Linked DNA regions of Homo sapiens: region 1 is linked to region 2. The links are contacts of gene promoters, found by promoter capture Hi-C in blood cells and fetal thymus (Javierre and others, 2016). All regions are on one chromosome and are shown on one strand. Each heading gives the region's core, a stretch centred on a gene start or on the middle of the fragment in contact. The rest is flanking DNA. Distances are from core to core; before and after follow the strand shown. Region 1 overlaps GNAQ (G protein subunit alpha q). Region 2 holds the start of GNAQ (G protein subunit alpha q).

Region 1 (4,364 bases), core at 503-3,002, 130 kb before region 2:
TAGGGAGCCATTCTGTCCCTCCCATCTAGGCTATTGCCTATTCAGAGTATGCTATAGTTTCTCCTACTGTAACACTTACTGCACTGTATTATAAATTGCCCATGGACTTGCTTGTAACCCAGCTAGCAGGTTAGCAATTCAAGAGCAACCTATCTGTTAGTTATAGATGCACTGCTTAGCACAATGCATGGCATATGGGTGCTCCTTAAATATCTGGATTTAATGGATGGATTGATGAATGAATGAATAAATGGATGGATGGATGGATGGATGGATGGACAGATGGAAGAACAAGTGAAAAGAGTAGAGAATACAATTTATAGCAGGAAAAAGTGAGTTTTTTCAAACAAATGGGAAACAAAATAAAAATTGATCCTTGATTCTACAACTCAGAAATAAACTGCTATTAAGAATTTATTATATCCATCTAGTATTTTTTACAACATATACATTTTGAGGTTGTTTCTTTCTTGCATATATTGTTATTAAAACAGGATTACATTATACCTGATAGTTTGCAACTTGCTTTATAAAAGACATAATATATCATGCATTACTTTCTAGATCAGGACATATAGTTCTACTTCAATGTTTATTTCAGCTGAAAAGAATTCCAAAGAGTAGCTGTACTATAATTTACTTCCTTATTGATAGATATTTGGCTTGTTTCCAAATTTTCACTATTATAAACAATGCTGTACCAACCAAATCTCACTCACCCGTTTTTTTGTTTTGTTTTGTTTTGAGACAAGGTCTTGTTCTGTCGCCCAGGCTGGAGTGTTGTAGTGCAATATGGGCTCACTGCAGCCTCCACCTCCCAGGTTCAAGCTATTCTCCTGCCTCAGCCTCCCGAGTAGCTAGGATTACAGGCATGCACCACCACACCCAGCCAATTTTTTTATTTTTAGTAGAGATGGGGTTTCACCATCTTGGCAAGGTTGGTCTCAAACTCCTGGTCACAAGCGATCCACCTGCCTCAGCCTCCCAAAGTGCTGGGACTACAGGCATGAGCTACTGTGTCCGGTCTCATTCACTAATGTGTGCATGTGTTTGTCTGTGTGTGTGTCTGTGTGTGTGTGTACTCTGCTTTTTACCAGGCACTGTTCTAGGGATATAAGAGTGAGTGGATACTATCCCACACTTAATGAGAGACACAGGCATTATTCAAAGAATCACATTAACAAAAAAAAAAATCAAAAAATGGACTACATGACTAGGAAAAAAAAGGAATATAATCATATGAAAGCATCTCATAAAATAATCTGGAAGAATGAAGAGGTGGGTGGCACGTGCAAAGGCAGTGCAGGAGGAAAGACAGCAGAGGTCAGAGGCGAAAGACAGCAGAGGTCAGAGGCAAAAGACCATCTGACTGGACCTCAGAGAACTTGGGCAGAGAATGGCGTCTCTGCACTTTTATGAGTGTTTCAATCACATATTTAACAAATATGTATTAAGCACATATCAAATGCACGGAACTGTGCTAGGTGCTGCTGATTCAGCAAGAACAAAGACATGATCCCTGCCGCCTCAAAAGCTTGCATTCTAGCAGAGCAAATTCTGCAGGGTGGAATTGCTACAGGAAAGACAATATGCCCTTTAAATTTTGTTACCTGCTGCCAACCTGTCCACTCTGGGATGTACTCAGCCCTTCCAGAGTCCACCTGTTCACCAAGTTAACAGAGTACTCAAAGCTATTTCTTGACTCAATCAGGTCTCCTTGGCCTGACACAGTTACTAAGTCAATCAGTAATCCTGGAGTCTTTGAGATATCTAAGACTGCTGAGCTGTTCTCATACTTGTGGTATATGTCTCATACTTGTGGTATACGTCTAAGTTTCAATAAGTAGGAAATTTAGAATGTGGAGGCCAGAGGTATTCCACATTCTAACAGAAACACATGTACGAATAACACAGTCAAAAAAGATCCTTCTGTCACTCCATCAGGAGACACTAAGATATTTTACTGCAATAGAAGCTTATTGCTAAAATGAGATTTAGAGCTCATCTGGAGATTTTAATTATTCATGTTATCAATGTTCTCCATTTTCATGGAAAACTGTGGGATAACTATACGGAATCTCACTACCAGTAAGGCAGGCTGATAATATCTACTTGTGGTTAGATACTGGGTGCACAGACAATTCTTTTATTCATCTCAGGTTCACTCCCGTTCACTAATTCCTAATTATCTACACTCCATGCAGTGGAGATGGGGCCTCGCTATGTTGCCCAGGCTGGACTCCAATTTCTAGGATCAAACTATCCTCCTGCCTCAGCTTCCCAAAGTATTGGGATTACAGGTGTGTGCTACCACACCTGGCTTCTCCATGCAGTTTTTTTCCTTCATGTTTTCCCACAATCCTTACTCCCATTCTCCACTTACTTACCCTTCTTTCTTGGCAGAAGACCGTACCAGTTCAGACAAAATTGACTAGCACTGTCTGTTAAAAGCCGCCTTCTTCTCAAAACCTTAAACTTCACCAATTCTCTGCTTGCTCCCAACAGTTTCAAAGCAATGAGTGTCCTGCTTCTCCATTTCTTTGTATTTTATATTGCTTGTATACTGTCAAATAGTTTCCCTCTTTACCAGCAAATTTCCACTGACCAACAAACACACTCGGTTCTCTCCTGAAGTTAAAGAACCAAACAAGCAAACCAAAATAAAAATACTTGCTTGAATCCTCAAGCTGCCATTTCTCTTCCATGTCCATCCTTTCACTCCGGCTCCTCACTCCTGGTCACGATCTTGCTTCCAGAAAGTACCACACTCTCACACCACCTGTGTAGTACCCGATAGTAGTACCACACTGTCACACTCTCATGCCACCTGTATTCCAAAAACACAAACTCCTATCACATCTGTTTCCTGCCCAAGGGCTCTTGGGCAGCCTCCACAGTGGTTAGAATCAATCTCCAGGATGTGGAATTGGAGGCTCTTTACAATACAATTCCCCTACACCTTTACAGCCTTATCTCTCACCACAAAACCTGGCCCATCTGTGTATTTAGTCCCTAAATTACTCAACTTTCCTGGGACTGTTCCTGTACTTTCTTACTCTCTGCCTTCACTCTGCTCCCACTCTCATTCATCTGTCCAAACCCTCCCATCTTCAAGAGCAGTACAGATACCATCACCTGGCAGAGCCGTCCTGCCTCTTCCTCCTTAGGCCGAGCTGGAGCTACTCTTTCTCTTAGGCTCCCTCAATGTCTTATAAGTGTCTGTGCCCTCACAAAATGGCACATACCTTGGGGGCAGAGAACCTTACTCTCCTCTGCATTCCTCACACAGCTACCCTAGAAATCCTGGTTTGAACGCTACCATCCTATACTTTTACAGTTTCAGTCTAGTTACAGTCTCAGTCCTTCTGGGTTGCTATTTAAAAATTCCATAAACTGGGTGGCTTATAAACAACAAACATTTATTTCTCACAGTCCTGGAGGCTAGGAAGTTCATGATCAAGGCACAGGCACACTCAGTGTCTGCTGAGAGCCAGTTTCTTAATTAATTGATGGCAGCTTCTTGCTGTGTCCTCACTGAGTAGAAGGGAACTAGCTTCCTTCGGCCTATTTTATAGGAGGACTAATCCCCTTCATGAGGGCTCCACCTTCATGACTGAATCACCTCCCAAAGGCCCCGCCTCCCAATACCATCACCTTAGGGGTTAGGATCTCAACATACAAATTTTGATGGGACACACATTCACACCATAACAAGTTACCTAACTCTTCTGAATTTATATTTATCATAAATAGGGTTACTAATGCCTCCACCTCTTAGCATTACATTAAAACTCACTGGCTGATGCAAAATGAAACTTTCAGAATGTTCTTACACCTTAAACAAGTTATAAATTTGTAAAAATATATTTGTAAGGAGTATTTTGTTTGCTTTTCACTTGTTATCATAATAATTAATTTCCAAATATTTCATCTGATGAAGAATATCATTTTCTCTTACTTGTGGTATATGTCTGAGTTTCAACAAGAATGCTTTTCAGTATGATTACTTTGGCAATTAGCACTAGCATCCTCCTTAATCTAAAATCCCACCTTTGTTGCTGACTTACATAATAAAAGCCTTGCTTACAAAGTTGAGAGGAATGTCTTAACAGATTATGACATTACAAGATGAGATACTTGGTTTGACATGGAATATCAGCTAAAATATTTAGTTTTAAAATACTAAAAAGGAAAACAAGAATGCTAAAAATAATAAAGGAAGAAAGATCAAGATGGTTTTCATAAAATCAGGAATCCACAAACTGTTATTGATAATGAGTTCTGGTCTTAGTCTTCAGAACAGGGTTTACAAAACCTAACCCAAGTTAGAAAAATGAACGCCAATTTGTTTTTGTACAAAACAG
Region 2 (4,391 bases), core at 63-2,562:
CACTTGGCTTCCTCACCATGAGTGCTCCGGGAATCCAGCTGCGAGTCTGCCCACCGTTCCCCCATTCCCTCCTGACCCCATAGGGCACTGATAATGGATGCACACCGGCCACTCCACCGCAGGCCATCCCCCAACGTGCCCCGGCTCCGCTCGCCACCCGCTGGGCCACACACACGGCTCCCCACGCCACCACCCCATGGGGTGCCGCGGCCACGACACTGGAAGTTCAACCCCTCTGCCCACCTTTCCACCCCCGCGCCTCTGGTCGGAGTGATCTGCCATTTAGCAGATGCACAGCAGATAAGGTACAGCCCTCAGGGACACGAAAAGGAACAAGCCAAGGCACCGGGCAGGGCAGCCCCGACCCCTGTGCTGCGTGTGTGTGTCGCTGTGTGTGTGTGTGTGTGTGTGTGTGTGTGTGTCTGTGTGTAACGCGCCCGCGCGCCCGCGCGGGTGAAGGCAGTGGCCGGGGGCGCGCCCGGGAGGGTAGGGGCGAACCGCGGGCGCCGGGGGGCGGGGGCGCCGAAGGCAGCTGCCCCGCAGGGCCAAGGATGGTGGGCTGGGGGCGCAGAGGCCCGGCGGGGCCCCGGACGGTACTCACCGAGCAGCAGCAGCTTGAGCTCCCGGCGGGCGTCCCGCTTGTCCCTGCGGAGCTGCCGCTCGATCTCGTCGTTGATCCGCCGGGCTTCCTTGGCCTCCTCGCTCAGGCAGCACGCCATGATGGACTCCAGAGTCATTCTTCCAAAGTGCCTCCGCTGCAGCCCCGCCGGCACCCCCTGCTCACAGCGCGCACACACACCCTCCCGCCCTCGCTCCCCCGAGGCAGCGGTGGCCGCCGAGCCCCCGCCGCCCGGGCGCGCGTCCGGGACGAGCTCCGGGAACCGCCGCGGGGGCGGCGGCCAGGGCCGGGGCCACCAGGTGGGCCGGGGGCGCGGTGGGAGCGGATAGTCTGGGCCGACGGGAGAAGAGAGGCGGGCGCGGGAGGCGGGCGCTGGCTCGGGGGGCGCGTGAGAGAAGGCCGCCGCGCCCGGCCTCGCTCAGACGCCCGCGCCTCCTTCCCCGGGAACAGGCGGCCCGCCTCGCCCCCCGAGCCGCCGCCGCCGCCGCCGCCTGCGAGGCTCCCCTACGCCGTGCGCCTGGCGGCGAGAGCTCATTCACCGGGGTGTCCCCGCAGCGAGCGGCCGCCGACGGCTCCCCGCGCCCGGCGCGCCCGCTCCTCGCCGCCGCCTGACACGGCTCCCGGGCGCCCTCGGCCCTGTCCGCGCCCACCGCCCGGCTCGCGCGCAGACCCGGTTCCCGTCCCGCCCGGCAACCGCGCGCTCCTCCGCCTCCGCCTCCGCCCCCGCCCCCGCCAGACGCCCACCCCCTGCCCCGATTGCCAGGCGCGGAGCGGCTGCTCAGTGCGAGCCCTCCCCCTCGCCACACACACACATTTTCTTCTTTCTCTGAACTGGAGCACAGATCCGGGAGGGAGGAGGCGGCGGCGAAAGGAGGAGGAGGAAGAGGCGGAGGGGATGGGCGCGGGAGGAGGGAGCCGGGAGGCGGTGCCGCCCGGCCCCTCCTGGAAGGCTTTCCTGGGCTCGCGGCCGCCGCGGCGCGCCTCCCAGTGCGGCTCTCGCCTCGCCCGCGCGGCTCCCGGGCTGGGCCGGCCCCCGCGGGCTCTGCGGACGCCTACTGCTCCCGCACCCTCGGCAGAGTCCGCGGGCGCAGCAGTCACGGCCGCCCCCGGCCGAAGTCGGGGCCAGACCCGGCCGCCGACGCGCAGCCCGAGCCGGCGGCCGCCGTTGCGTGCCAGGGCCGCAGCCGACCTGCGGCTGCCGTCCGGCCGGGCGTGGTGAGACAGGAATATGGCGGCCTCTGCCTGCCTCAGCCCACCGGCCCGGGAGCGCGGCCGCGGCCCCTGCTGAAGTCGCGGGAGGCGGCCCCGCGGAGCCCCGCACGCGCTCCCTGCGGCGCCGGCGCTGGCGTCCGCCGCTCCCGGGCTGTGCCTGTCTGCTCCACGGGGTCGCTCCTCAGCCGTTTCTGTGTTTCCCGTTCCTATTTCTAAAACGCCATTCGGTTAGAAACTCTCACGTCACCTCTGACACCGGTGCAGTCTTAGAAAATAAGCTCCTCTATACTGTGTGGGGCTACTGGGGAAGGGAAGGGAAGGAATTGGCACCGGTGCCCAGAGGTGTAGGGGGAGATTCACAGGCGAAGCTGTTCGCAAAGTAACGTGAGATAGAAATCTAAATCCTGAACAGAGAAAGGAAGCTGCCCAAGTTTCCAAGAGCCTCCCGATAGGTTCCAACTTTTCATGCCTTTGTTTTTTTGGTGGTTGTTGGTTGTTTTTGTTTTTTTAAGTTGTTTTTGTTTTTGTTTTACAAGTTCTCTTGTTTCTGAGAAGGCACACGATGTTTAGCCGCCGAGTAATCGAATTTACTCTTCTAGACTGAGATTGAATTATGGATGACTTATGGGAAAATGTAAAATAATGTGGAATAAAAGGAAAGGAAAGAATGAAATAGAAGAGAAACTAAGGAGGCCCCAGCAAAACGGCATTCTAGTTTTTTTGATTTGCAATATGTGATTGAGGCAGTAAACTGTCGTATGCACATTTCATTGTGATCGTCTACTGATAAATAGCACACGAAAATAATCTTGTTTAATCAGGCCCAGGAGATGAAACTCATATTGCTTCCTGCCTTAAAGGAACCTGAGGTCTTCAAAGAAAATTGTCTTTTATGAAGAGAACCGCTTTTTCACGTTTCATGTGTTCTCTGAAGTGTCCCTGGTGCAACCTGCTGATCCAGAGTGTAAGGTACGGTCATGACTCTGCTTTTGCTACAGATCAAGAACTCATATAGGGTTCTTAGACAACAGGTGTGTAACTTCCTTCTTTCTTTCATTTGCCATTACTCCACCGTTTCACACACATACACACACTCTAAACCACGATTTAAATCAAGCAAGTCAAGATATAAAATATATATTTTAGGTTCTCTGTTTAAAACCTAGAAAATAATTAAATTTCACCTTGCCCTGGAGAGCAGAGAGGGCAAACCTCAACCCTTTTATGTGAATGCCTACAGAGAACAGCTAGACTTGCTATGAAATTAAAATTTAAAATCAAGTGACTAAAGAAATTAAAGATTGAAATTCAGTATGCAAAAATAGAAAGTGGCTTCAGAAGAAAAAATTTTAAGTTTGCATCCTCCGAATATATGTATGTATATGAGCTTTGGAGAGACACAGAACACTGGAAAACCAAATGACAGAAAGCTTGAAGTCTCTGGTTACCTACCCAGGGATCCTCTGAGACTTTTAAAAATGTCTTTTAAAATGAGCCATCAGGCTATCAGGTAATATGTTTTGACTGAATTGTCCTATTATTTGATGAATTCATCTGTTTCAGCGGGCTATAGAGTCAGAGTCTGTTTTGTCCCCCCTGTATCCCCCCAACATCATGAACACTCCCTGGCAACTTAGATACTTAAATGGATGCAATGAATCAATAGGAGAATGTTTCAAGTATTGGGGAGAAACCAGGAAGTAAGAAAAACCAACACTCTACAGTGATAAAGCCATATATGGGTGTCAAGAAGGAAACAGGAAAAGAAATTCCAAGTCTGAGCCCAGATCTATCCAAAAACCTTTTCATATTATCTGGAGAGCGTTTGCCAAGCAAATATTCCTAGAGACTAAGTCAAACAAATAGAACCCATGCAGAAACAACTGATAGTTGACCATGTTCTACAAGCACATACTCTAAAACATGCAACTAAACAGGGATTATGTTACAAAATCCCAGTTCATTCAGTCAACAAGCATTTATTCATTGCCTACTATGTGTAAATAACAGGTGAAGGTACAGGATAAGAGAGATACTAAAATGAATAAAATACAGTCCTTACCCTCCATAGGCTTATAGTCTTATAATGAGGCTCTAAGCAGCTATAATACAAGACTAAAATCAATTTGTATAAAATTTGGGGTGGAAGTAACAACATAAAGGTATAAAAAGGAAGGGGAGAACTGGAAAAGATACGGCAGGAAAAGGGGCATTGACATGCATGTTAAAGAATGAAAAGGTTTTCAATAAATAGGTACCTACATCACCTCAAAGTAAATGAGCAATTCCAAGTCACCCCACACAGAGAGTAAGATGATAAACCATTTTGAGAATTCAAGGACAATTACTAATGAGCTGAAAAGCAAATTGCAATACCCAAGGAAAATTGAACTTCAGAGAAAAATAGGAAGACTGTCACCTTTTCTATGGTATCCTGAGATGGATCTCCAACCCCACAATCATATCACCCTGTCCTTTGGGGACTGGCAAAGAAAAACAGTAAAAGGCATAGTTTAGTCTTAAGGAGTGGTTCTGCAGTCAAAGAATGAAAAGGCCATGC

Evidence for each region. Contacts are between HindIII fragments. The CHiCAGO score rates a contact against its expected background, and 5 or more counts as called.
Region 1: a fragment that was not itself captured here is called in contact with the fragment with the promoter of GNAQ in region 2 in 11 of 17 cell types (megakaryocytes, erythroblasts, naive CD4 T cells and 8 more); the score reaches 10.5 in megakaryocytes.

Annotation. Positions count from the first base shown.
Region 1 is chr9:77,898,371-77,902,734 of GRCh38, forward strand. The region is part of intron 2 of GNAQ (G protein subunit alpha q); the gene reads right to left. It overlaps LOC107987081 (a long non-coding RNA gene), which reads right to left. Exons shown (of 2, transcript XR_001746758.3): 2 at 1-4,364. Among named protein-coding and RNA genes, the nearest start is that of GNAQ, 130 kb to the right of the region's middle. The HindIII fragment of the contact is 441 bases long and covers 1,533-1,973 here.
Region 2 is chr9:78,030,499-78,034,889 of GRCh38, forward strand. It overlaps GNAQ (G protein subunit alpha q), which reads right to left and starts at 1,313. Exons shown (of 7, transcript NM_002072.5): 1 at 602-1,313. The coding sequence starts at 737. RefSeq lists an enhancer at 502-1,396. The HindIII fragment of the contact is 11,535 bases long and covers 1-3,259 here.